Linked DNA regions of Homo sapiens: all the other regions are linked to region 1. Evidence: promoter capture Hi-C in 16 types of primary human blood cells and fetal thymus (Javierre and others, 2016). All regions are on one chromosome and are shown on one strand. The core of a region is centred on a gene start or on the middle of the fragment in contact, and the rest is flanking DNA. Distances in the headings are between cores, read along the strand shown. Region 1 holds the start of NRN1 (neuritin 1). Region 2 overlaps LY86-AS1 (LY86 antisense RNA 1). Region 3 overlaps FARS2 (phenylalanyl-tRNA synthetase 2, mitochondrial). Region 4 overlaps FARS2 (phenylalanyl-tRNA synthetase 2, mitochondrial). Region 5 overlaps FARS2 (phenylalanyl-tRNA synthetase 2, mitochondrial). Region 6 overlaps FARS2 (phenylalanyl-tRNA synthetase 2, mitochondrial).

Region 1 (4,425 bases), core at 980-3,479:
CGCACGCGTCCCAGCAGGTCGCAGCCCGTGGGTCCCTCGCTGTCCTTCCTGAACCCCGCTTAGGCGAGACTCTAGCGGGTGACCCTGGCTCCTTCCCTGTCCTCTCTGCCGTCCCCTTCTTGTGCGGTTTCCATCCGTTCATTCATTCGTTCGACCTCTCATTCATTCCGAACTTCCTCCTGCTGCGTCTTCTTTCGTGTTCACCACACTCTTCTACCTCCCCGCCCCTCCCAACCCCCACTTTTCTTGCCAAATGTCAATGATTTGGGACAGCTCCCAGCCGTGAATTAATAAAGACCGAGGTTCTGTTGCAGGAAAGGGCAGACATTAGGGAACAAATACGTTCAATTTCAATTCCACAGTCAACAAATAGTCATTTTTGGACCGAGGTTAATGTGTTCAAAACGCGTCCCTCAGGCACGACCACCGTCTTTTTTTTCCCTCCAAACCTCTCAAAGTAAGGTTATTTCCTACCGGGAAAACAGAGTCCCAAATCTTGTCCGATTAAAATTTCTATCTCAAAAACAACTCTCTCTCCTGCTCTCTAAAAATTCAAAGGTTTATTGCAAAATGCCACATTCACTTATTTCCAACATTTAAGGAATTTGCTGCCATTAGAAATATTATTTACAGCAGCTCTTTTCACTAATGTCAAAGATTCAAAACAACCAGATTTAAAGCATTGTCATTTTTTGGAACTAAAGGAAAACACCAATATCCTGCACTCACACACTCTAAAATCTTTATAATGTTTCTGCATTATAAAATCTCAAAATCATGTCAGTTGCATAAAACCCCACTGCAAAGAATCCATTTTAAGGTCTAGAGAACTCCAAACCTTGTTTCCTTCACATTTCTTATGGAAAAAACATATTATGCATTCTCCTTTCTTGCCCCAAACCAATTACCTAAAGCACCCCCTCCCCCAATACTGCAAGGATTTGTCTGCAAAGAATGCCACAGCCTGAACTGATAGGAGGTAACAATTCCGTTTCAGGAGTTTCTTTTTTCCCCCGTGTTGTCCATTCTATTAATAACCTGCTTCACTTTCACTTTTAGGCCACGTTAATTAATGTTCTGACCCAGTGTCGGAGAAGGGGGTTTTCTAGTGCCCTCTTCTATATCTTTTCTTCATTCTGGATGGTAAAAATGTGAACTTTAAAAAGACCCCTGACAGCGTAACTACAACTCAACATTCCTTAACATAAAATGGGGACTAAATAATTCCTTCCATAACCAATCCCAAACAAACAAAAATAACAAACACCCGACATGACATATTCCAAACACTTCTTAACCCTTTCCTATATATAAAATGCAGACACCAATGTGTAAAGTAGCAGGCAAATGCATCTAGAAAAGTATATCTACGTAAATTTGGCTGAATTCATCCTCTTCAATGGTAAGCATGTTAAAATATGTGGTCTGAAGTTCCCTATCACTCTCGATTTGCCCACCAGCCGGGTCTGCGGTGCCCGTGCAAACGCTGCAGCTAGGATATAGGGGGGAGGAGGGGCGGGAGAATGACAAAGTTCTAAATGCAGCAGTCTGAGCCCTGGAATATCTTTGCTTTCAGCACATAAACTTTCCAGTCCTGGCTGCCTAGCCATTTTATTCCTGCATTCACATTTCGACTCTTCAAAATCATATCTTGCAGTATCGCAGGGGCCAGTACATTGCCCCAGAGCGCACCAAACCTGGTATAAACCCAGAAAGGGAAACAAAAATGGATGTGTGCTCAGGAAAAAGGGGGAAAAAAACCGTGTCCAGAAAATGTCCGGCCGCACACATTTCCTGGCGAACATTTGGAATCTATAGCTTTAGGAAAAACCGATCTGGGACGCGCTAGTCCCCAGGAACTGATGCCCCCACCCTCGGGGGATTGCCGGCTTCTCCGCACCCTGGGGCGGCCGCGGACCCGCTAGTCCCCCTCCGCGCCTCGGGCCGGGGCAGGCTGCCTCCCGCCTCCAGCCTCCAGCCGGGCTGAGCGGCCACTTACCTATTTGCACCGCGAGGATCAGTGAAATATATCTGCCGTTCAACTTAAGTCCCATCCTACGTTTAGTCAAACCATTTGCGACCGCAGACCTTTAAATAGTTAGTTTAGAGAACGCGGGGGAAAGCCAAAAAATAGGCATTGCCAACAAGTTCCGGGAGCGACAGAGACTTTATGCACTGGGAAGGCAGAGGGAGGAGAGAAAGAGAGGGAGCGAGGAAGAGACAGAAAGAGAGAGAGAGAGAGAAAGAGAGAGAGAGAGAGAGGCTGAGGGGGGGGGGAGAGCTGGGAATGGTTCACTCCATTAGAAGGGGGCGGAGGAAGTACAGCCTCACGCCCACGAGCAGGCCTGACGTGGGGGATGACACGGAATGATTTTTTTTTTAATATAGACACCTTGGTAGAGAATCGCCATTTATAGTCATCAGAAGCTGGAATTAATCAGATATCTCCAATTAATGTGCGATCTGAACGAAATTTTGCCTCCCGGGGGTGAGCACTTTCCTATTCTAGCGGTCACCCCTGCCTCTTCCTCGTTCCGGGGGCCCCCCAGCCCCGCCGCCTCCCTGCGCAGAACAGGGGCTCCCCCTCCCTTCCCCGCCAGGAGCTGGGGAGTCCTGGCGCGCCCACTCGATTGTTTCAACCTGCTCCCCCTCCTCCATCAGCACCACAGAGAATCCAGCCCGCTCTCTACGATGCAGGGGGGTTTAAAGGAGCGGGAGAGGGAAAAACAGCTAAGCTAGCTCGATTAATTCGAAAGCGCTCCTCGGCCGCCCGCCCCCTGCGCTTGCCTACCCTCTTTTTCTCCAACCCAGCAGCTGAGCTCTGGGCGCAGCCTGGAGCGCGTGAGCACGCAGCCCGGCCCCCCGCACGAGCACACACACACACACACACACACACACACACAAACGCGCGCGCGCACGCCCGCCAGCCGCGCCGAGCGCCCCCATGCCCGCCCGCACACAAGGCACGCGAGCGCGCGCACACGCCCAGGCCCCGGGGGTTTGGTTTGCACACGTGGGGCCCCAGAAATAAACACCGAATGTCCTCTGAATTTTACCCACCTGCGATGCCCCAGCGGGCCAAAGGCCGCTTCAAGGGACACAGCGACACCTGTTTTAGGGGGCGAGTAGGGCACCGGGGAAGGAGCCTCTGATAAGACAGTTTTCGGATACTAGTGATTTACCAACCAACTCTCAGCGCTTTAGGAAATTTCCAAGGCAAGCGCTGGTGTGCGGACTTCTTTCTAATCTTGATGCGCCTCTTGGGCTTATTTGTTGGGCTACACACACACGTACCCACACGCACACACGTACATCACGTACGCACACGCACACCCGGACCCACACACACCTGCACTGTCTTTTGATGCTCAGGCACAGACCCTGTGTAGGTGTAGCCTACCCTGCAACAAAATACTTCTGCAGCTGGCTTTGTGCTAGGTGCAAGCTGCTATCGACGACAGCTTGAGTCAAAACCGAAAAACTAACAGGGCTATTTCCTTTCTAAACGCCTTTAAGCTCTGGTTTTCTTCCTTTCTTCTGCACCAAACAGAAAAAAAAAAAGTCTAAATTGTAGCGTCTTTAATAAAATGCTAAAGAAGGCATTGGCCAGCTTTAATCCTTAAGCCTGTGGAGAGAAAAAAATGAAAACGACCCCCCAAATTTTGCCAAACTACACTAGAGGACGTCAAGCTGTCAAACTGTAGAAATGCACACGGATTAAGGAGAAGCGTTGAATTTGCTTCTACAGGCAGCTTGCCCTCTAGGGCCAATCTTGCCGTCCCCATACTCAGATATTTGGAGATGCATAGACAAAGGGGGAGAAAGGTGCAAAATAACGGGGGTAGGACAGGCTGTGGAGGGTAGGGGGCCGAGGGGAAGCTGCGGGGGTCCTACTGCAGCACTTGGTGACGTGAGGTGTCTGCAATGTGCGGCCCCTAACTCACGTCCCGCGGGAGCCTCAGACTCCCATGCAGCCTTCCTGGCCCTGGGGGCGGAGTCATGTCTCCCCGCCCCTGGTTATGTCACCGGCCTGCGGGCGGGGCGGTTGGGGGCTCGCCTTCCGGTGTCCAGGGGCACGGTGGCGGCCCCGGGTGTTTCCTTTCCCCGAGCTCGGAGGCTCCGGGAAGAACCGAAAACGTGGGCGGACAAGGGGTGGGGCGGGGGCTGGTGGCGAGAGGGGGGCGTTTCTCGGACCCTCCCCCGACGTCTTCCAATGGCAGGGCGGGAGGCTTTCCGAGGGGCGGGGCCTCAGGGGGGTTGCCACGCGGCCCGGCCCACGGCTCCGCCCCTCGCTCGGGGTTCCGCGTGGGGCCGGCCCAGCTTTCCCGGACCAGGCCACCAGCTGCGGGCCCCCAACCTCGCTCAGACTCGTGCAGAGCCCAGGCTTGGGAGTGGCTTAAGGTTTTTTGCCCTCAACGTCCTTGC
Region 2 (4,425 bases), core at 1,090-3,589, 500 kb after region 1:
CTGTGGCTATTTTTTATGAAGGTAAATGCTATGAATAGTAGCCATGACAGTGCAGAGATAGAGGCAAATTAAGAAAAACTGTAACGAAAATGTGAACTTTTGAAGGCAGGTGCAGAAACTATCAAGAAAAGTAGATAGAAGTATTTGGAAAGGAAAGGAGGTTCTTTTTTTACTGATGGCATCTATAATAGGCCTTGAATTTCAAGTTTATTTTTCCAGGTTCACTCAGAGAAGCTAGAAATGATTCAACAATTATGCTTACAGGAATCTGTCCTTCAGAAATAATACAAGTGTGTAGAGTTATTTTAAAAGATTATATTACAACACTGTTTATAGTAGCAAAAAATTGGAAGCAAACTATTAGATTGGTGCAAAAGTAATTGCTGTTTTTTGCTATTGACAGTAATGGCAAAACCGCAATTACTTTTGCATCAACCTAATAATTAGTTAAATGTAGTTTACATAACAAAACATTGTACACCTAAAGTTAATAATATGAGCTTAAGTTCGTAGAAGGTCAAAGGGTATAAGCATCTTGCATGTTAAAAGGCATTGCTACATTGCACTGTGTAAAGGTTGTACCAAATTACATTTCCACCAACAGTATATGAAAGAACCTATGTCTGTACATTCTAACCAATGCAGCATGTATTACTAATGTTACAGGTTAAAAATAGGTAAGTAAATTATGCATCATTATCATTCTAATTACTATTTCCTTTATTATAAATACAGTTGAACACCATTTTGTTTCATTTGAGAACAATCATTTATATTTTCTTTACTATAAGTTACCCCTTCAGGGACATTTGCAGTGGCTCACGTCTGTAATTCTAACACTTTGGGAGGGCAAGGCAGGAGGATCTCTTGAGCCCAGGAGGTCAAGACCAGCCTGGGCAACATGGTGGAACCCTGTGAAAGGAAGAAGAAACAAAGAGAGAAAGAGAGAAAGACAGAAAGAAAGACAGACAGACAGAAAGAAAGAAAGAAAGAAAGAAAGAAAGAAAGAAAGAAAGAAAGAAAGAAAGAAAAAGAGAAGGAGAGAGAAAGGAAGGAAGGAAGGAAGGAAGGAAGGAAGGGAGGGAGGGAGGGAAAGAAAGGAAAAGAAATAAATTATCCTTTCTTTTTTTTTTATTTTCCTGTTGGGTTTTGGTCTTCATATAAATATATATGCTTATATATGTGAAATTGGCCCTTTTTCCTTTTGTGTTTTCACTTTGTTTAAAATTTTTTGCAATGCTATTGTTTTGTCAAAAATGTTATCAACTTTTAATGGTTTTATTATTAGAAAATATTTATCTATTTAAACTTTCTGAATCTTATATGCTTTTATAATACTTTTAATTCCCATTTTGAACACCTAAATTGTAGCCAATCTGTAGATTTCTGTGTATATAATATGTATGATGGAAATTCAGTCTTTTACCAGATAATTATAAAGATGATCCAAAAGCGTTAACTCGGTACTCCCTATTTTCTTTCACTGTATTAAAATTCCATCTATATCACCTACTAAATTAGTAATATGTATTGCTTCTGAACTTTTTGTTTCATTTATTGGTTTTCCTAGACATGCACCAATACCACATTGTTTTAATTCTGGTAGCTTTAAAATATGTTTTGATATCAAACAAAGATAGTACTCTTTCATTGTTTTTCTTTTTTAAAATATTCCTGGTCATTCTTATACACTTTTTCACAAGATGTTTACAATCTATTTAACTGGTTAAAAGGCTGTTGGAATTGCATTACATTTATGAATTGACTGGAGAACTTTACGAAGTTGAGTTATTCTACCCATGAAAATACCACAGTTTTTTCCAGTAGAATTCTTTATTGAATGAAGGGGGAAAAATCCATCTCTGTGCCAGGGACGTCGGAATCCTAATGCAAAGCTTTATCTACAGGCCCATTCATTTGATTGACACAAAACCTAGCCTTGGCTTAGTTATTTGTTTCTAATTTTGTAGAGAAAGATATTCAATAGCAAATAAGGCTTCTCTGAATGTTCCATTTTCACATGAAGGGCAGAACCAAGACTAAAGGAGTCATTCCCAAGTGGAATGCCTTCTATTTAACAATGCATTGATCTCTGACATTTACGCAACCCAAAACACAGTTTAGTTTTGTTTCCTCATCCCAAACACTACATGATGCCTCACTCAATGAGAAAATATCTAAAATTATCTCATTTGAAAACGCTTAAGAAAATAAGCATTATTGATAAACATTTGCTAATTAACTTTGAAAGATGTCAAGTTTCTTTGCCTGTTGATGGTCTTGGAAATTTCATTATTAAATATTTTCATTATGTAATGGTCACATTAGTTGACAATTTAGTTGCGTAATTTTAGTGGATTGTCATCAACTTCCTATGTAAAGAAGATCACCCACTGACTATTGACTGATTTTTCTAAGTTGAGTTGAGAATAAAAGAAGGAAACTACCATATCCTCACAGGAGTGAGGAAGCTCACTCAGTGCTAGTCAAATAAAATGTTACTGCTGAAGTGCAGCCTGTTAGCTCTGGACTCATTACTCTGAATGATCTCTGAATCCCATTCAGGGTCATTCTTCCCTTGTCTTGAAGAATAGTGTGTATTTTCAGCCAAATATCTCTATGGTCCAGTCCTGTAGTTATCTAAGAAGTCTGATGGCCTTTCTTTATTTCATTCTAGCTCTGTCTCCTTCAGTTCAAATTGTCGATGTTTCTGCTGGGGTGTCTAGGTGCCTGCATCACACCGATACTAATCTCCTTCCCAAATTGTTGTTCAGGCTTCAGAACAAGCTTTCTCTTCAGAACAAGCTTTTTATATTTTGCATTATGGATAGGCTAAAAATTTTCCAAACTTTTAAGTTCTGCTTCCTTTTGCTTAACATTTCCTTCTTAAATTCACTTCTCTCTTATTGCATTTTACCGTAAGCAGTCAGGAGGAACCAAGCCATTTCTTCAAACACTTTGCTTGGAAATCTCCTCAGCTAAAACTCCAATTTCATCACTCACAAGTTCTACCCCCCTTCACAAAACACTAGAAGACAGTTCAGTCCGTTCTTTGCCACATTATGACAGAGATCATCTTTCCTGCAGCTTCCAACAACATGTTCCTCATCTCCTTGTGAGACCTCACCGGAATGGACTTTAGGTTCATATTTCCACCAACATTCAGTTAATGATTTATGCGTACCCTAAGAAGTTTACTATCTCTTTATCTTCGTAGATTTTTCATACGCACTTCAAAAAGTTTGTTGTTAGATAAAGTGTCTTATAAAAGGCAATTAGCTCGAATCAGTTGATAGTGTTAATCAAGTCTTCCCAGTCTTTGCTGATTTCCTAATTTTTCTATCCATTATTGAGATTGATATATCTGACTGTAACTATAGATTTATCTATTTTTCCTTTCAGTTCTATCACGTATTTTGAAATTTTATTTTGGGGTACATAAATGTTCAGGGTTGTCATGTCCTCTTGAGTAATTGACCCCTTTTTATGAAATATCCCTCTTTATCGCTAATATTATTTTGTTCTGAAATCCACTTTGTCTGACATTCATATTGCCAATACAGTTTCTTTTTATTAACATAATGTATCTCTTTCTGTCCTTTTGCTTTTAACCTATTTGTGTTTTTACATTTAAAATGTGTTTATTGAAGGAAGCATATAGTTAGTTCTTGTGTTTTTATTCATCTGACCATCTCTGCCTTCTAATTGCAGTGTTTAGATCAGTTATATTTAATGTGATTACTGGTAGGGTTAAATTTAAGTCTGTCATCTTGCTATTTCTTTTCTATTTGTCACATCTGTACTTTTATTCCTTTTTCCTTTTCATTTTTTAGAATTCCATTTTATTTCCTTTGTTGCCTTATGAGCTATAACTGTTATTTTAGGTATAATGTGTATTTGTACATTTTTAACTTGATATGTACCATAATTACACAGCATACGTAATTAAATAAAATAATATACTATATATAATTATATATTTTAGATACTATAAAACATAAAATTATATTCTCTATATAATTATGCATTAGATAGTATAAAATACATAATTACATGGTATGTAGTATATAATAAGTAATATTATATTGCCAAGAACCATGAGGATCTGATATTTTACCATTCTTGTGAGCTAATGAGTTAGCGTGCTACAGTTTTAGAGATGCTCATAAAAGATATGACTTCTGGATCAGAAATGAAAAACAGTTTATTAATCATAGCAATAGCAGTAGCCAAAATATGAGCATTTTTTGTCAGTTCTCTGAGATCTAATTCACACATGTACATCCATCCCATCCAAAGAGCACCAGATGCCACCTGCACATGCAGAGAGTTGAAGCTGCAAAACATGAGTGCTTTATTATGAGCAGTGTGTAGGCTCTTTATTCCAGGCAAATACAGTATTCCTATCTTCCAAGGATGTTTGCT
Region 3 (4,425 bases), core at 593-3,092, 500 kb before region 1:
GCATGCGTGTGGCTGTGTTTGCCCCAAGGGCCACACCATAGTTTGCCAATCCCTGATAGAAGGGATGAAAAAACATTTTCAACCTTAGAGAATAGACGTAGACATTAGGTAAAAGCTGTTAACCTTGTAGCCAAGATTTCATTTCACCCAATCAGAATTGCTGAGAACACTGTCTTCCTGAGATACTAAACTTCCAGCTTTGCCCAGGTTCTCCTGCCCAGCATTCCTTGGCGTGGAGCTCGAGGGTGACACTGGGTTTGCGTATGCAGATAAGAGAAAGGGAACAAGTTACAAGGTTTGATTAAAGCAGCGGCCCCTCCGTCTGGTGAATGGCTCCTAGTTTACACCACGTAGCTGATGAAAATGTCACAAAGAAATCTCGTGAGCACACTGGGGAAGTGAGTTGTTCCTGGTAGGACACAGTTGGTCCTGGTTTTTACAATTCCAGTGCAGCTCGGCAGACAAGGGGCAGACTCGATGGGCATAGTGCAGGAAAATGGGTTCTTAAGGGTAAGGCGAGAGGTCCCAGCTACTTGTGAGTGGCTTACTTTTCCAAGGAGTCGATAATGATGGAGAAAAGGATGTCCAGAGGGTGGTCCATCTAGCTTGGCGCCAGAGCGGGAGAGCTGTGGAAGCTCAGCAGGAAAGACTGAGCGTGGGGACTGTGGTCTCTGCAGAAAGTGGGTGGTTTCTTTATGGGGATACCTGCTGGAGTGTGCTGGTTTTTAAAAAACAGGTTACTGGGAAGAGCATTATCCACAACACAACATCTATATATACCAACACATAGCATATGCACACTCCTCTACATGTTTATATATACACATCGTTTCTGGTTTATTTTCCTCTTACTCAAAATACATTATGTCGCCCAATTTTGTTTTCTCATTTAATGTGGAGCTCTTTATGGTGGTGTTAACTGTAATTTTAGCTCTACATTTTGTGAGGCCCGCCAGTGTTGGGCTGGGGATTAAGGAGAGTGTCATCTGGATAGATGGCAAGAAGGCAGCACCGCTAGATTTTTATAGGACAACCAAAGGCTGGGGTTTGGAGGGGTTTTTTGTTTGTTTGTTTGGTTGGTTGGTTGGTTTTTGCTCCCTTTTCTATTTAAACAAAGATTTTGCCTCATTTCAAATTTTTTTTTAGTTCAGTGATTCTGTGGATATCTGCAGAGTGAAACGTTACATTATTTTTCCTCAGGGGTGGCAGATGAGTTAGTCGACCCCTTAGGGAAGACTCTGCCTGGGTCGACCCCTTAGGGGAGATGCTGCCTGGTCCCTTCGCCCTCTCCCTGCAGGGTGCCATCCTGGCCTGCCTCCTTCCAGGCAACCCCAACAGAACTGCGGAGCTGAAGCAGCCTCTCCCCTTCAGACCTCAGAGAGCATTTGTCTGACCGTGAGTTCCGCCGCAGCCTGGCCTGTCTTTCGCCCTAGTTAGTCTTTAAGCTCCTGAATGCCCGCCGCACGCCCAGGGCTTTGCACACGGTGGGCACACGGTGCCTTTTGAGCGCGGGAGAGGGTTGTGAGCTGTTTGTGTGCGGAGCCTGTGTCTCACTCATCTTTGCAGCCCCTGGACCTGCTAGAGAGCTAGCACACTCACCAGCGCTGGCCGCGTGAGAAGCGAGTACGTGAGTGCTGACACAGTGATGAGCTTGACCCCATATGTAGTAGAACGGGTTCCCAGCCTTGTGTCTGAGCCCCACCCACCCCCCTCTTGTCCTCTTGTCCTTTTGGGGATTCACTGTCAGAGGAGATGACCTCAGGAAGTTAATGAGCCAATGAGAGATGAGCTGGTATTTATTAATGGCAGGCCGATGCCTAGGAGTGCCTGTCTGTGCTGGGCTTTACCGGTATGCAGAGATGCAGCCCCCCAGTGGGCTTGATGTGAGATCTCCTCCTCTCCCTCCCTCAGCAGGGCTTGCGGGGATCCTGAGGATCAGAGCCTGAGTTGTCTCCCATGCTTGAGCTCAGAGGGGACTGAGCTTCCCTTCTCTCTCAAGACACAGGAGGGAGAAGGAGAGGCCAGATGGCACAAGTGTCCCACACTTTCACCCCAGATTGGTCCAACGTTTAGTCAAACCAGCACATGAATGGTAGAGGGACAGAAGTAAGAACAAGAAAGAATGATAGATGCCAAGATGAAGATTTTGTACATGAGAAGGTATTTAAGGGATCTTGCAATTTTCCTGCAGGAGAAAAAGAGAAAATGAGGAGAAGGAAAGCATTTGTGCTGTAAGAACTAACCTATAAATTATACTTAAATAACTTCCTCAATAAGCATAAATCATGCAGTTACATAAAATCATATTGATTTCATTATGTTCGTATTAATACATTTTAATTTTTAGGTGCACATGCCTGAAGGCACAAGGCTCTTAAACACATAATAATCAAAAAGCTAATTAATCACAAATGGGCAAGTTTCCCAAATAATTCCAGGAATAGGTACAATTAAGAAATAATACCCTGCGCACAAAGTAGAATAAAAACACACAAGCAGACAAGAAACTTCATTACAAGCCATAAAAACCAAAGAGAAAAACAGAAGAGTCTCATTTCCTAAGCCAGGTAATGCCTAAGCCAGGTAATGTATTAGGAGGGCTATTGGAGGAAAAGGGTCATTTCGTAGACCTGTGGCCCTAACCATGCCTTTTCTCTGTTTTCCTCATTAAACTGGTGAATCTTGACTCATGCCTCTGTTATATTAATGATTTCTTCTAGCTTTGAGGGATCTAGAAGTCTCATAAGCACCCCTTTTATTTCTCTGAGTGGCTGCTGAGAACCCTAAATAGAACAGGGACAGGTTCAGGAGTCTGTTAGAGGATACAAGAAACCTCTTTCCATGTGTACACATTCATTAATCAGAACTTTTCACATATAAAGGTTCAACAAGTTTCAGATCCATCTAAATAAACAGTTGAGTCCTCTTTTCTCTTTTGTGAGTATATTCTAGGGACTTCAGCCAAGTGCTTTGCTATAATCAGAATATGCTTTATTTATGGCATTTTTTGGCTTACCCGCCCAGTAAATGCAACCACAAGAGATGATAAGAATGGGATGTTAGTCAGCACTCTTTTAGTTCCAAGAGTCAGAAACCCAACTAAAGCAAAAAAAGGAAATTCAATTGCTCACATAATAGGAGGCCCGGGGGGTGGGCTTGCTTCTGATTCAGCTGAATTCAGGCCACACAGCTAATTAGAGGGAGAGCCAGTTCTGGAATTGACTTCAGGTCCTCCGACTCCCAGGGCAATGCTCTTTCCATTACCTGGTGCTACCTCTATGCTACCTCAATCAATAGCAGCCAAATTAAAAACAAAATGAAACAAGAAGGGCATGTCTTCTCCTTGGGGTCACTAATAATTTATTCTGATTTTACCTCTCAAGACTTGCATTGTTCATGTTCCTGAAGGAAATTAGCAAAGGCTTTTGGGTGTCTTTATGAAGGAGAAATCATTGCTTTCTACCTACTTGTATTCCACTTTGTGTCCTAAGCTAAGGTAGATGGTTTGCCCGTCAATTATTTGTCCATCCATTTAGTCTGAAAACATTACTCAGCATTTCCTAGGTTACAGATGCTGTGCCAGGCACCCGAGATTCAAATGTGATAAAGACATTGATAATTTGGTGACAAAGGACAATTCAAGCAGAAGGCCTAGTAAATGTAAAAACACAAACACTTTCATGCATTCATTCTTTTCAGCAAAAAATATGTATTAAGCACAAAGTAGGTGACAGGAACTGTGTGTGCTAGGTGTCATTAGTAGGCATAAAAAAAGGAGAACATAGGTTGGGGACTGCAAATAGTTCATTATGGCAGAAGCACAGGTCTCACATGGGAGAATATGGGAGTGAGGGAAAAATGTAGACTGATGTCCAGTCATCAGACACACTGGGGACCCTGGATAGGTTTGACGCAAGAAAGTGTCCTTGTCTGATTTTCATCCTAGACACTCCAATTGCAGATGCGTGGGTTGGGTTGGAGAGGGGTGGATGGCAGGCTGGAAAACCTGATGGAGGCTATGGGAATATTTCCTAGGGGAGAGGGTGGACACTATGAGGTGGCGGTGGTTGGGATGGAGAGAAACTAGGTTCACGAAGGAATCCAGAGGTCAAAATCAGCAAGTCCTAGTGACTCATCTCATGTGACAGGTGAGGGAGGGAATGGAGTTCAGATAGTCAGGAACCTTGTGAACAGCGAGGTTATTACCTGAGACTGGAACTCTGGGGAAAGGAGCTGAGCCGTGTTTGTGTTGTATCCACATTAACTTGAGCAGTGCCTGACATGTAGGAGGGACTCAGTCAATGTTTTTGAGTGAATACCTGAATATTACAAAAAGGACCATACCAGAAAGTACTGACAGGGGAAGTTATCCTAATTCAGAAGGCCATGGGAGGCCACCTGAAGAAGTGATATTTAGCCGAAGGT
Region 4 (4,425 bases), core at 1,169-3,668, 480 kb before region 1:
AGTTTGATTTTCTAGTTTGTTTTTAAATGTCATCTTTTAATTATGTTTTGGATAATGATGAAGAGAGATGCAATTTGGTTATGAGAATAAATCTTAAAAGGCTCAATGACTCCTTTATCTACTGCTTAAAACAACTCCCTCTAGTAAAAAGTATTTCATTAATTGTCATTACTTGGGAATTATGGAATTAGAGCAGCTGATCCCTTTTATCATTCATATATTTAAGTGACAGTGGCATTACTTACTCTAAATTAAGTTCCTTTCCTGGTTAAAAAATTATAACAGTGTGACAAGAAATAGAGCACTATTAACTTTTATTTTGGAAAGCAATTTTTCTAGTGGAGATATGAAAGCCACTATTATGCCTGGTTTCTTTTTTCTTTTTTCTTTCTTTCCTTTTTTGTTTTTTGAGATGGAGTTTCGCTCTTGTTGCCCAGTGGAGTGAAATGGCAGGATCTCGGATCACTGCAACCTCCACCTCCTAGGTTCAAGCAATTATCTCACCTCAGTCTCCCGAGTAACTGGGATTACAGGTGCCCACCCCTACACCCAGTTAATTTTTGTGTATTTAGTAGAGACAGGATTTCACCATATTGGCCAGGCTGGTCTCAAACTCCTGACCTCAGATGATCCGCCCGCCTCAGCCTCCCAAAGTGCTGGGATTACAGGTGTGAGCCGCCACGTCTGGCCTATGCCTGGTTTCTTAACAGAAAGAAACAGATAAGTATATGTACCATAATACTTCAAGAATTTCATCAAGGGGTGAAAGTGTTTAAAAGGTTTATCAGTGGGTTTTCGTATTCTCCACACTCAGGAAGGAATCAGACAGTCTTCTTAATGTATACAGTATTATATAGATATACATAAAAGTTATTCAACTGCTATATCCACTGTTTTTTTCTTTCTGTCAACTCTTCGGTTATATTCTCACCAGTCAGCAATGTGCTGGGCCAGTGCTTCTCCCAAGCTGGAACTGACCCTGTAAGTCTATTTTGTGAGTGGAATCACAGCAATAAAGTCTCATGGCATTTGTCAGAGGGACTGCGTTGACCCTGCCGTCCAACGGCATATCTCCTACAGTCATAGTGTCTCCATAATTTTGGCTCAGAGGATTTATTCAATTTCCTTTCCCTTCTGCTCTATTCTTTCCGAAAGACTTATTTTTACTGTAGTGAACTCACTAAACTCTAGTTAGCTTTCTACTTGTGGCCTAGTTTTGATAACTCTTGTTAATAAGGAATTTAATAATACAGTTGAAGTAAATGAAAATATTTCCCAACACTCACAACTCTGTACAATGTTTCAACAGTGTTTCCTCAAACTCCTCTTATGGATATGACTCACATTATAAAAACTGATATATGAAGAATGCACATTAAGTTGAAAGTGATTATTTGAATAATGATCATTTTAATGCACTTAAAATATCACTCAGATTTTTAAAGTCTTGCCTATAAATTTGGGGGAATATATTGTTCCCTGAAGCTCTGTATGCAATTCAATTCAAGCAACTAAAAACAAACCACAACAAACAATCAAACAAAAACAACTTCTATCTGAAAAATGGAAATTGTTCAAGACTGGTAAACTGTTAGGAAATGTATCTTTTGCTGAATGAAAACTGTTTGTTGCAATGATCTGCTTAACAATACTTAATTCTGAGTTCCAGGAACTTAGATTGAAATTTGAGGGAAAAGGATGAAAGACATAATGCTGTACTGGGGGCTAGTCAAAGGGAGATGTAGGAGGTGGTATGTGAGTCCTTGGTAGATCATATGCAAGTCAGTATATTTAGCCTTTAACTATTAATAAATGCTAAGCAAGGCATAACTATTCCCTTTACGTTTTCAAAAGGTTCTGCAATACCCTATCCCAATTTGGTCAATTCATCTTCATTTCACATTTCTATCTTCGTATGTTTGTGTTTACTTTTCCTTCTTGTTGGAAGATCTTTACCTTTTTTAAAATTTGTATTTAAAAAAAAAAGAGATGGAGGTTTCACTCTGTTGCCAAGGTTGGATTTGAACTCCTGGGCTCAAGTAATCCTCCCCCTTTAGCCTCCTGAGTAGCTGGGACTACAGGTACATATATGTCATTGTGCCTAGTTCACCTTGAAAACCCCTACATGTCATTTAAGACCATACTTGACTGACTTTTCCAAAACATCCATGTTCAGGATGTTTAAAGTGACCTCTTCTTCTTCTGTCACCCCATAGAACCTAATTTCTAACACTCATGGCACTGATTTGCATATGTATTTATAGGTCTTTCTCTCTCTGCTTTCAAAGTAAACATCCCTTGAAAGCTTGAACTATGGAGTTACGCATACCTGGGTTCACATCCCAGATCGAGCACTTGCTTGCTGTTGGTTGACTGACTCAGTGGCAGTCCTAGCACCACTTGTCCTTACATACATCCACTCCAGAGTTTGGAAAAGCCAGGCACTTATGCTCTTCACATCCTTTAAATCTAAGGGTGGTCAAGCAAACCAGTTTGGAGCAATGAAATGTAAGACAGTTGGGGACCCTTGGGAAAGCTTGTGTTTCCCTATAAAAGCAACAGGTATGTAAGTCATGCACACTGGAACTGTTCCTGCTTTCCTCCTGACTGATACGTGGTGACTGGAGATCGACCAGCCATTTTGTAGTTATGAAATTACCATAATAATAATGGAAGCTGACCTGCTAAGGATGTTGGAGCAGAAAGATAAAAAGAGCAAGGGTCTTCAGTGGCATCCTCTTGCTCCTGTACCAAATCTGGAAATGCCTATCTTCAGAATCCTTTTTATGGAAATTAAATGTCTCTTATTTAGATCACTTTTAATAGAGTTTTCTATTGCTTGCAGCCAAAATTATTTCTAGATAGCTGTATAATCTAGGACAAATTAAACTCTCTAAACTTTAGTTTTCTTATCTATAAAATGGAGCTAGTGATAGTGACCTAACAGAGTTGATGTGGTAATTAATGAGGTCATATTTTCTGACTCGTGATGAGCAAGTCAATGTTTCTTTCTCCTTCCTTTATATGGTATTGTTTGCCAGAAAGCATCTATCACATTTTTTGTACAAAAACAAGTCACAGTAACTTTTTTTTCTTTTTTGAGACAGAGTCTCACTCTGTCGCCTGGCTGCAGTGCAGTGGCACAATCTCGGCGCACTGCAACCTCCGCCTCCTGGGTTCAATCGATTCTCCTACCTCAGCCTCCCGAGTAGCTGGGGCTACAGGCGCCTGCCACCACACCCAGCTAATTTTTGTATTTTTAGTAGAGACGGGGTTTTACCATGTTGGCCAGGATGGTCTCAATCTCTTGACCTCGTGATCCACCTGCCTCAGCCTCTCAAAGTGCTGGGATTACAGGTGTCAGCCGCTGTGCCCAGCCTAAGTCACAGTAATTATCATTTGAATGAGTAAATGAATATTAGAGTAAAGCAGCTGAACAGACTTTGCAAGATAAGCCACTCTAATGGCTTCTCACAGCCTTTTTAATGGCTGAGTAGACAGTCTTTCTCTGCCTCTTGAATCTGACTTGGCTCTGTTACTTGCTTTGGCCCATCAGGGGAGTAGCAAACATGATGAAAACAGATGCATGAAAGGTGATTGCACCCTGGGGCTTGCTCTCTTGATGCAATTAGAACCCTGCAACCACCACATAAATAAGCCCAAGCTAGCTGGTTGGATGATGTAAGAGAACCAAACTGCCCCAGCCAGCAGGCAGCCAACACCAGACATGTGAGTTCCGGCAGGCCACATATGCATGAGTAAACCCAGCTGAGAGCTGAAGAACTTTCCACCTAAGTCCAAAGGGCCAGCCAACTTTGAGCTAAGTGAATAGTTGTTGTTTTAAACCACTAAGTTTTGGGGTGGTTGGTTTTACAGCAAAAAATAAATGATCTAGAGGAGCTCTGAAGTGAATAAGTAAGCATCGGGGTCTCCAGATGTGTCACCTGGAGAAGGACATCATAGCACTTTTGTAGTGTTACAGCTGGGGTCCAGAACCTGAATCCAATCATGAAGAAATATCAGGTAACCTCACATTGAGGAACATTTCTATAAAACAAGCGGCCAGGATTCTCCAAAATGTCAATGTCTTATAAGATAAAGGAAAGCTAGGGAATGGTCCTAGATTAATAAAGACTAAAGAGACATGATATGTAAGTACAATATGTGATCCTCAACTGGATCCTTAATGGGAGGGAAAAAATGCTACAAGGACATGATTGGCAAAAATGTCAAAATTTGAATATGGATTGCAGATAAGGTGGGGTTATTGCATCCATGTGAAATATCCTGAATTTGATAACTGTACTATGGATATATAAGAGAATATCTTTGTTCTTGGGAAGTATACACAGAAGTATTCAGTGGTAAAGGAGCATGATGTATGTAACCTACTCTCAGATGACTTAAATTATTGTAATATTTAAA
Region 5 (4,425 bases), core at 861-3,360, 440 kb before region 1:
TGTTTATTTTAATAATGGCCATCCTAATGGTGTGAGGTGGTATCTCATTGGGATTTTGATTTGCATTTCTCTAATGACTAGTGATGTTGAGCATCTTTTCATGTAATTGTTGGCCATTTGAATATCATCTTTGGAGAAATGTCCTTTCGAGTACTTTGCGCATTTTTTAATTGAGTTCTTTGTTTTTTGTTATTTTTATATATTTTTAAAAGGAAATCATTTGCAAATGTGGCCATCGTATTGCTGCAAACAAATTGCTGCCAGTACAGATTACATTGTTAAGCATGATGGTTGAAAATATATATCACATTTAGACCATTACTGGCCACAAGGAACTGATATTATTTGATGTGGTTTTTGAGGTTCGTTCTTTGTCTTGCTGTTACTCTTCTAGATACATATCTATTTGTTGAGTATAGCCTGGTGTCATCACCCTAGGTCCTACATGTTAAGATTCCTAAGGTTCAGACAATAGATGGAGGATAAAGAGTTGATTCTAAGAGTCTTTTAAAATTCTGCCCATGTTTATGCATATATACGACATACAGTCAAATCCATCCCCAACATCATCTTTGAGTGTATGATGAGACAGAAGAGATCTGAAATTTAGAGGCCTTGGAATTATTTAGCTAGTCGCTAGCTATTTTCCCCTGGGTCACTCACCTGACTGTTCTGTCACTACATTTTCTCACTGGTAAAATAAGTTCAGATACTCTCAAAGGCCACTCCTTATTCTAGGATGCTATGAAAGTGAGTAGGATTTTCCTATCTCCTCTTCTGTGTACCTCAGATTGCATTGTTACTCCTGACATTCATCTTGACTTAATCTTGCCAGCTTAAAAAAGTTGTTGTGAAAAGAGATGAGTGTTTCTCTGTTGACTTGTGATTATGTGAACAGTGCAGAGTGCAAGCCCTCTCTCTGCTTCTGTCTGGTCTGTCTCTGTCCTTCCCCCTTTCTGTCTGTGTCTCTTGCTGTTTTTCTCTATGTGGCATTTTCTTTCACTCTGTCTCTTGTCACTCTTGTAATATGCGGTTCTGATTCACGTTCAACTGTCAACATAGCAAGGGGGAAATGGTCCCAGGCTGCATAAATCCACAATGGGAGTGATTTCTCTGCTCTTTATTAAGATTTTTGTTGATGTATGTGACATTCAACAGGATTTATCCCAAACACAAGAGCGTTATTAATTATTTATAAAACATTTCTGAGCATCTGCTCTTGTGCCAGGCACCGTGCTTGACCCTGGGGACACAGGAAGTATAGTTTCCTGCCTTCAGATAGCTCCCGCACTAGTGAGGGAGGGGCATTAATATGTATAGGTGCTTGATAAAGGTAGCTAGGCCTGAGGAGTCTGCACTGTGTGGCAGGCAATCAGTCCAGTAATGGGAAGGAGACAGAAGTGTGAGCAAAGTCCTGGAGGCGTGAGACAGCCATAGTCTGTGGTTCAGTGTAGGGTGTTTATAGCAGAGTGTGCTGAGTTAGTGTGGGGAATGTGGGCAGTGGCAAACTTAGCTCGCAAAGCTTAGGCTTTGAATGGTTTCTGTAAGGCAATTAGCAAGACATCCAATTTTGTGATCAGATTTCTATTTTAGACAGATCCCAGTGCGGATAAGATGAGGATAGATTGGGGCCATGAGGCTAGGAGCCCACTCGAGGCCCGGCACAGAAGAAATGATGTGATATCATGTAGGGTAGTAACAGAGAGACTAGAAGGTAGGGTTGGGCTCAGGAAATTTTAGGAGAAAACATTGAAAGATCTTGGATCCTTATGTGAGGCAGAGGCAGAGTGACCCTATGGCTTAACACCTAAATTGGGGTCTGGCTGCCTTTGAGACTTGCAGGGGCACTGTTAATAACTGTGTTGCATGTCTCGGTGCAAACTGGGATTGACCTGGGTAAAGTGGGTGTTTAATCACAGTAGGTAAACATGAGCCAGAAAGAAAATGGTTCCTAGGTTTCTGCCTTGGGAGCTGGGTAGATGAGAAACAGGAGAAAAAACAGGTCTGGAGAAGAAGATGATGAGTTCAATTTTGGCCAGGTGAGTACAGGAGTATAATTTTTTTTTTTTTTTTGAGACAGGTTCTCACTCTGTTGCCCAGGCTGGAGTGCAGTGGCACAGTCATGGCTCTCTGCATCCTTGACCAACTGGGCTCGGTCGATCCTCCCACCTCAGCCTCCTGAGTAGTTGGGACTATAAGCATATGCCCCCATGCCCGGCTAATTTTTGTATAGTTTTTGTGGAGATGGGGTTTCGCCACATTGTCCATGCTGAGCTCAACTGATCCACCCACCTCGGCTTCCCAGAGTGCTGGGATTACAGGCGTGAGCCACCGTATTTGAGCAGGAATATAAAAATGTGAATTTAAACAACTTCATTGTGGTGGTGGTAGTGGTCATTGTCTTTGTTTTGTTTGTTTTAATTGGCATAGTCAAGTCTTCAGCTGAGCAACTGGTCTTAGGTATGGCTGGCCCAAGTGACAACTCAGGCCAAGATAGAAGTGAGAAGTTGGAACAGGGTTGTTTACTGTGGAGGATGAGTCAGAGCTGAGCCCTTTAAGAGAGGATGGTCCAGGGGAGGTGAAGTCAGGGCATATTGTTATGGGGGAGAGGTAGTTGCTGAGCAAGCACTGGCATGGGTTGATGCTTGGGAATGGCTGTCAAGAGGACAGAGTGCAAAGGTCAACAGGTAAGATAAAGGAAAGCTTCCTCCAGAAAAGAGGACTGCATTAACAGGGGTTGGGGAGAGAGGTAGAAGACGGATGTCAGGGTCAGGCATACAGTGTTTCTTCCCTGCCTGCCCAACATGCTGGACTCTTTAAGGATCCTTCAATTCTTGAACCTTGCTTAAGGACAGGTTATGTAAATGCTAGTCATCAGCAAAAGCCAAACTCACATTGTTATTTCTTTTTAATCATAGCTGTATTAAGCTTTTGGAGGTCTGTTCTCCCAAATGTTTCTGTCTGTTAAGCAGAAAATATTTCTTCCTTGACCAAGGACTGAAAAGTGAAAGAAAAAAGATAGAATAAAATGTTCTATCTAGAAAGTGCTATCTAGATTTGAATAGTTGGAACATCTTCCTAAGGTGTTTATTTTGGTGGATATGTGAGGAAATGAGAAGAGACGATGATATTGAAAGTTGACTTGCATTATTTGTTTAAAGTTTTGACAATTTTGAGTATTATGGTGTGCACTTTGCATTCTGGTGCAGTGATAAAAACCACAACATCTTCTCTTTATTTCACTCTTCTGGGCTTAAATTTGCATCTTTAATATTGTATTACCATAATTTTTGCATATTGTAAGGTAATTCAGTTGCCCTCTTCCTGCATGGTTCAGATTTCCAGTTTTGTATGAGTTTCTTATTATTCTCACCCAGTTTCCCAATTAGCACCTTGTTAACTACACACCTGCTGCACAGAAAATTGTATTACGCCATTTAGCCTTTTTAAAGAAAAAAAGAGAGAATGGAAGACACTCTGTTAATAGGTTATTTCAACCTCAAAAAGTGATGCCTCTGGGCACAGAACCACAACATGATTGCTGACGGGGAGAACCTGATTGTTTAATAGATGCTAGAACTGGAACAAGAAAAGCTTTTGGCAGACCTCTGGAAACGGGGGTAATCTGCACTGTCACCACAGCTGTGCACGCATTTCCAGCTTCAAACCACAGAAGCCAAGCCTGATCCGTCAGGTTCTGCACATTTCTTTGTGGAAGAATCACTGAGCCACTTCCATTACTGTGCCACTCTGAAATAATTTCCATTTATCATCTCATCCTGGGATTAGCTTTATTTCCTAGTATAGAAGAAATAAATAGACTTACTGACTGTTTCGTTTTCAAATTTTTCGTGAAGACTTGGTAACTTTTCACTCAAACGGTTATTCATTTATTATACTTACTTCCACATCGTGCATCTATTAAAGGCAAATATGCAGCCGTTAGTATGTAAATGGAACTTGCATGCTGAACAAATGAGGTAGAACCTCAAACGTTATTTATTGACTAATTAGTGTTATTGTAATCAGAGGAGAGCCTATAGAAATGTGTAAAACTATGCACGATGGGCCTACACGAATATAAGCAGATGTCAATTTCATTTTGGTCTAGCTTAATTCATGCGTCTTCTGTGACATACGGGTGTAATACCTTCATTTCAAATTGATTTAGATGCTTACTTAACTATTAAATGATAATAGCTAATTTAGTGGAAAAGATTATTAAATCATATAAAAAAGAAAGCCTCACCAACGCACGTGGAGAATCCTACTTACTGAAGCATGGGAGGTTGAAAAGAAGGCACAACTAGGACCTTCATTAGGATTCTTCAAGTTGGCCTTTCCAGAGATGGCTTTCTGAATCACGAGCCCTCTGCTTCACGCTATCATCTGTCACCTCCTGATCATCCCTTCTGTGTCATCTAG
Region 6 (4,425 bases), core at 913-3,412, 340 kb before region 1:
TCAAGTGTTAAGCCCTTCATCGAGAAGCTAGCAAAGTAGAATTGGTGTGTGCGGTGGTCAAGAGGGAAGATTCTCAGATCAGATCCCCGGGTTTGAACGCTGGTCCTGCTACTTGCTGGCCGTGTGTGACCATGGCAGGTTACAATTTCTTTGTGCCCCAGTTTACTTCACTATAAAGCAGACATAATACTCCCAAGCTCATATGATCATTGTAAGGATTAAATTAGTTTGCATAAAGCTCTTGGAACAATGCCTGATGCATAGTAAGTACTTAATAAATTCTATGATAGCATCTTGGATGCAGTGATGGTGCTTCGGAAGCCTGTTACCTTCTGCTGCCTCCACGTGTTGCAGTTTCATTTGGGAAACACTTATTGTTTTAGTCACATACAACTCTAAAAGGAGGTGATTCTATGTCCAGTTTTTCACAATGTCTAAAATAATATGGTTCACAGTAATAAGATTTTATAGCAGGTGAATGTTTACATTCTCATTTCCCAGATATATAATAATCAGTAGCCACTCCCTTTGCATTAAAAACAAGCCCCCCTGGCTACTGAATGGCTCTTCAATGTAGGGAGTATCTTAGCCAGCTTGGCACAAATAAAACCTCTTTCCTTTTCAGCTGTTTTAAACATTTAGCAGTCAGATCAGATGATTGAACTTTCAAAAAAATTCTTCCCAATATCTGTTTGGATGGAATCATTTGCCGTAAAGATCTGGCATTATTCAAAGCTGCTCTGTGCTCCCTTAATTGAAAAGCCCTGACATTGACATTGGACAGGGCTTGCCTTTGGGGCCACCAGCAGACAGCTTTCTTCAGTGCCTCGTATTGTTAATGACTCAGAGAATGTGTTTCGATGAGATCAGAAGCAATCCACTAAAGAAAAAGTGGAGAGGACTTGAGAGCTTAAAAGAGCGGAGAGGAGAGATGTGAGAAAACCTAAAAAAAGACAAAAGTTGGTGTGGAAGAAGGGGTGGCGCGGGCTCCATGGCAGATTTGTCATTCGTCCCAGTCCAGCTATTTAGAATCATTTTTCCAGTGGGAAGAGAGATGAAGAGAAATCCTGTCCAAAAGAACAAGGAAGATGTCTTTGAAATGATATGAGGGGAGCCAGAGACAGACATGGAGGTGAGCAGGACCAGGTCTTGCTCCTTAGATCTCCAGGGAAGATGTACTCAGCACTACTGTGCGCACCTGGGCTGCACTGGTGTCTTTACTGCAGGCAGAAAGGATGGATGCACGCTGGCCAGGGCCATGGACTGCAGGTGCTTAAGTGGCCCCACAGTAGATGGCTGTGTTCACAGCTCAGATCTGTGGCCCCCCTGGCCTCCTCAGCCCCTCTGAACAGTATCCCACTGTTAGCAGCTCTGCAGTGAAAGTGCAATCTGAACACAAATTAAGTGGCAGCTTTGGGGTTTTAAAGAAAAAGGAAAACTTTTTCATTTTAGAAACAGAAAGCTTAATGTCTCCTGTGTCAGTTCATTCTATGCTCCCTGAAATGGTTTCATCTCTATGCTAATTTTATGCTGAAAATAGGAACTCCCCTGTGCTGGAGAGGAGAGAAAGGGCTTGGAAGTCAAAGACTATCCAAGTGGCTGAGAATCAAGTGGACCCCCTTGACTCATTTCCACTTAGAAAATGCTTTCAAGGCAGCCAGTGTTACACCGAGGGTCCTGCCAGGGGAGCCGAGGCCTTTGCCTGTCACCCTGGGAGCTGGCTTCCAGGCCTTGGGCATGGATCCCTCGCCCAGAGTCTGCTTGGTCTTGCACCAATGATTTCACAGGTTATATCCAGACCTCATGCTTGATAATAAGGTAGTAAGCTGACTTCCCTTGGTTTCCTCCACTTCTGTTTTAAATGAATAATTAATCCATTAAAAGCATCATCTCAAAAGCACAAAATATCCTATAATCTATGACTATAAGTTCTTAGAATAAGAAGTGGACATTGTGTTATGCTTACTTGTAGACTGGTCTGTCTCTCTTAGTAGGACATGAGATGTTGAGGATGGATCTCATCCTAGTCCTAGTCCTTAAGAGCACCAACATGGACGCTTCCTCAGCGTAGGCATATAACTGTGATCTCTGAAGATTCCTATGGGTCTATCATTCAGTAGCTCAAGGGCAGCTGGACGGAGAAGAGATTAGAAGTCTTGTTCCTGCTTCTTAACTTGTTCACAAAGATACTTCATTTTTATTATTTTGGTCCTGCCAGTTCTCTTCATCTGGTTTCCTGTATCCTTTCATATACAGTGATGCTGAGGCATTTTTTCATTTGTTTGTTTTATTTGTTGTTTTAAAGAGAAAAGGGAGTATACTTGTTGCTTCAGGGCAAAACAAAGACCAGTGGGAAGAAAGTTATCAAAGGTTGATTTCAGCTCCTCACAAAGAGCTTTCTAAGGACAGGCTATTTGTGAAGGGACTAAATGTGTTTAAGTAGAGCTGGGCGGTCACATGAGACCATTGTCCTGAGGAAGCTCACCCAAAAACCCCGATGGCCAGGATGTTGACTGATGGCTCACCCTGGAGAGTTGACATCTGGAGCCTCCGCTGACAAGCAGCATGGTCCGCTGGCAGGTGAATAGGGGCCATGGTTCTGCGGGCTCTCTCCAGGGGTGGCTGAGGCTGGCACTCCACAGTGCTGCTAAGCACATGGGTCACAGCTGCAAGAATGCTGGGGTATGCTGACTAGGCAGGTGTGCGGAGGTCACGATGCAGCTCCATCTTCAAAACAGGAAGCATTTCTCGGAGCTGTAGTCTCACAGACTCTAGAGAGATTTGAGAGGAGACTGTCAGAGAGACACAGAGGCCTGGGTGTGTGTGGATGAGGTGATTTCTAACCGGTTGATAATAAGGTAGTAAGCTTTATGTTTCTATCATATTTATTTCCCCCCTCAGATCAGGTTGTCTGAGCCAGAACCACATATCCCAGAGCAGGCATGTTAGTGATCTGGGATAGAGAGAAGGACGTTCTAAACAATGTCTGGAAACATAAGGGGCTGAGATGCATTTAGCCATTTGAAAAGATAATGGAAATTTCTTTCAACTAATTCCTTTGAGGTTTAACTGTATAGTATTGCCTTTTTCATCCTTTCACAAAACAGACCCTGGAAGGACTCAAATTGGTAAGTGAGAAGCCAGTTACTACCAACTACTGGGCAGCTTCTTGGCAGGAGGTGAGAGCTTTCTGCTTCCTTTTTAGGACAATTCCACCCTTCCTTGAGTGGGAGGAGTTGGTGAGGTGGCTGAATGTCATGAGGGTTTGGAGAGGAGGTGGCTGTAATCGCACAGGCACTGGCATTGAAGAGACCCCGGGAAGGGAAGTACCTCTGGCTCCATGGCAGGATCTGGAGGGAGGAAGGGAAGATTCATAGCATAGCAGGTCTAGCGTACCGCACTTGAAAAGACTATGGTATTTATTGGTTCATTGAACTCAACTAAACCCAAAATACTGGGTACCTCATGTGTGCAGTTCTTAGTGCCAGGAATGATGGGCTGTGTAAGGAAGAATCCAGTAACTCCCTCAACTAACTTAGAATATTTATTTCCTAACTAAAAGAAACATAAGTAAGAGTCAACAATATTGTTTGTTTTGCTTTTTATGTAGTGTCAGGCACAGAAATATGCTCAGTAAACACTTGCTGGTTAATGGCCACTGCAGGTCCCTGAATTTGCGTTGAGTTGAAAGAAATGCCACCAACCTGCCCCTCCACTGCCAGGAGTTCAAGTCAGGAGAGCAGCCAGCCTGACTATAGAAGAACTACACAGTGCCTAAAGTTCCAGGAAACCTTCCAGTTGCAAGGAGAGAGAGCAGTGCTATTTTAATAAATAGTACATGATAGTTTTGCTGTATACCAGGCCTACACAGTGCTAGACACTGGAGGCAAAGACAGACAAACAGACAAAATAATTAAAATGTGGTTAAGATCATATCCAAATGTAAATTAGGTCCACCACTGTGGAAAACAGTGTGGCAGTTCCTCAAAGACCTAAAAACAGAACTAACATTTGACCCAGCAATCCCATTGCTGGATATACACCCAAAGGAATATAAATTGTTCTATTATAAAGACACATGCACATGTGTATTCGTTGCTATTCAAAATAGCAAAGACATGGAATCAACCTAAAGGATCATCAATGGTAGACGAGATAAAGAAAATGTGGTACATATGCACCGTGGAATACTATGCAACCATACAAAAGAATGCGATCATGTCCTTTGCAGAAACATGGACAGAGCTGGAGGACATTATCCTTAGCAAACTAACACAGGAAGAGAAAACCGAATATTGAATGTTCTCACGTACAAGTGGGAGCTAAATGTTGCAAACACATGGACACATACTGGGGCCTATCGGAGGGTGGAGGGTGGGAAGAGGGAGAAGATCAGGAAAAATAACTAATGGGTACTAGGCTTAA

Evidence for each region. The method cuts DNA at HindIII sites, captures the fragments that hold promoters and counts their contacts. A CHiCAGO score of 5 or more calls a contact.
Region 2: a contact is called between a fragment that was not itself captured here and the fragment with the promoter of NRN1 in region 1, in 5 of 17 cell types (M1 macrophages, M0 macrophages, M2 macrophages and 2 more). The highest score is 8.2, in M1 macrophages.
Region 3: a contact is called between a fragment that was not itself captured here and the fragment with the promoter of NRN1 in region 1, in 3 of 17 cell types (naive B cells, total CD4 T cells and naive CD8 T cells). The highest score is 6.6, in naive B cells.
Region 4: a fragment that was not itself captured here is called in contact with the fragment with the promoter of NRN1 in region 1 in 1 of 17 cell types (naive B cells); the score reaches 5.4 in naive B cells.
Region 5: a fragment that was not itself captured here is called in contact with the fragment with the promoter of NRN1 in region 1 in 1 of 17 cell types (naive CD8 T cells); the score reaches 5.3 in naive CD8 T cells.
Region 6: a contact is called between a fragment that was not itself captured here and the fragment with the promoter of NRN1 in region 1, in 5 of 17 cell types (fetal thymus, non-activated CD4 T cells, naive CD8 T cells and 2 more). The highest score is 6.8, in fetal thymus.

What each region holds. Positions count from the first base shown.
Region 1 is chr6:6,004,696-6,009,120 of GRCh38, forward strand. NRN1 (neuritin 1) reads right to left here and starts at 2,230. Exons shown (of 3, transcript NM_016588.3): 1 at 2,000-2,230. The coding sequence starts at 2,054. RefSeq lists a silencer at 4,161-4,280. The HindIII fragment of the contact is 16,379 bases long and covers 1-4,425 here.
Region 2 is chr6:6,506,476-6,510,900 of GRCh38, forward strand. The region is part of intron 3 of LY86-AS1 (LY86 antisense RNA 1); the gene reads right to left. Among named protein-coding and RNA genes, the nearest start is that of LY86, 80 kb to the right of the region's middle. The HindIII fragment of the contact is 892 bases long and covers 1,894-2,785 here.
Region 3 is chr6:5,509,058-5,513,482 of GRCh38, forward strand. The region is part of intron 4 of FARS2 (phenylalanyl-tRNA synthetase 2, mitochondrial); the gene reads left to right. Among named protein-coding and RNA genes, the nearest start is that of FARS2-AS1, 53 kb to the left of the region's middle. The HindIII fragment of the contact is 8,689 bases long and covers 1-4,425 here.
Region 4 is chr6:5,526,227-5,530,651 of GRCh38, forward strand. All of the region lies in intron 4 of FARS2 (phenylalanyl-tRNA synthetase 2, mitochondrial), which reads left to right. Among named protein-coding and RNA genes, the nearest start is that of FARS2-AS1, 70 kb to the left of the region's middle. RefSeq lists an enhancer at 3,155-3,764. The HindIII fragment of the contact is 231 bases long and covers 2,304-2,534 here.
Region 5 is chr6:5,567,182-5,571,606 of GRCh38, forward strand. The region is part of intron 5 of FARS2 (phenylalanyl-tRNA synthetase 2, mitochondrial); the gene reads left to right. Among named protein-coding and RNA genes, the nearest start is that of FARS2-AS1, 110 kb to the left of the region's middle. The HindIII fragment of the contact is 1,181 bases long and covers 1,521-2,701 here.
Region 6 is chr6:5,662,688-5,667,112 of GRCh38, forward strand. The region is part of intron 6 of FARS2 (phenylalanyl-tRNA synthetase 2, mitochondrial); the gene reads left to right. LOC101927950 (a long non-coding RNA gene) reads right to left here. Exons shown (of 4, transcript NR_110842.1): 4 at 2,298-2,771. Among named protein-coding and RNA genes, the nearest start is that of FARS2-AS1, 210 kb to the left of the region's middle. RefSeq lists an enhancer at 2,530-3,729. The HindIII fragment of the contact is 1,404 bases long and covers 1,461-2,864 here.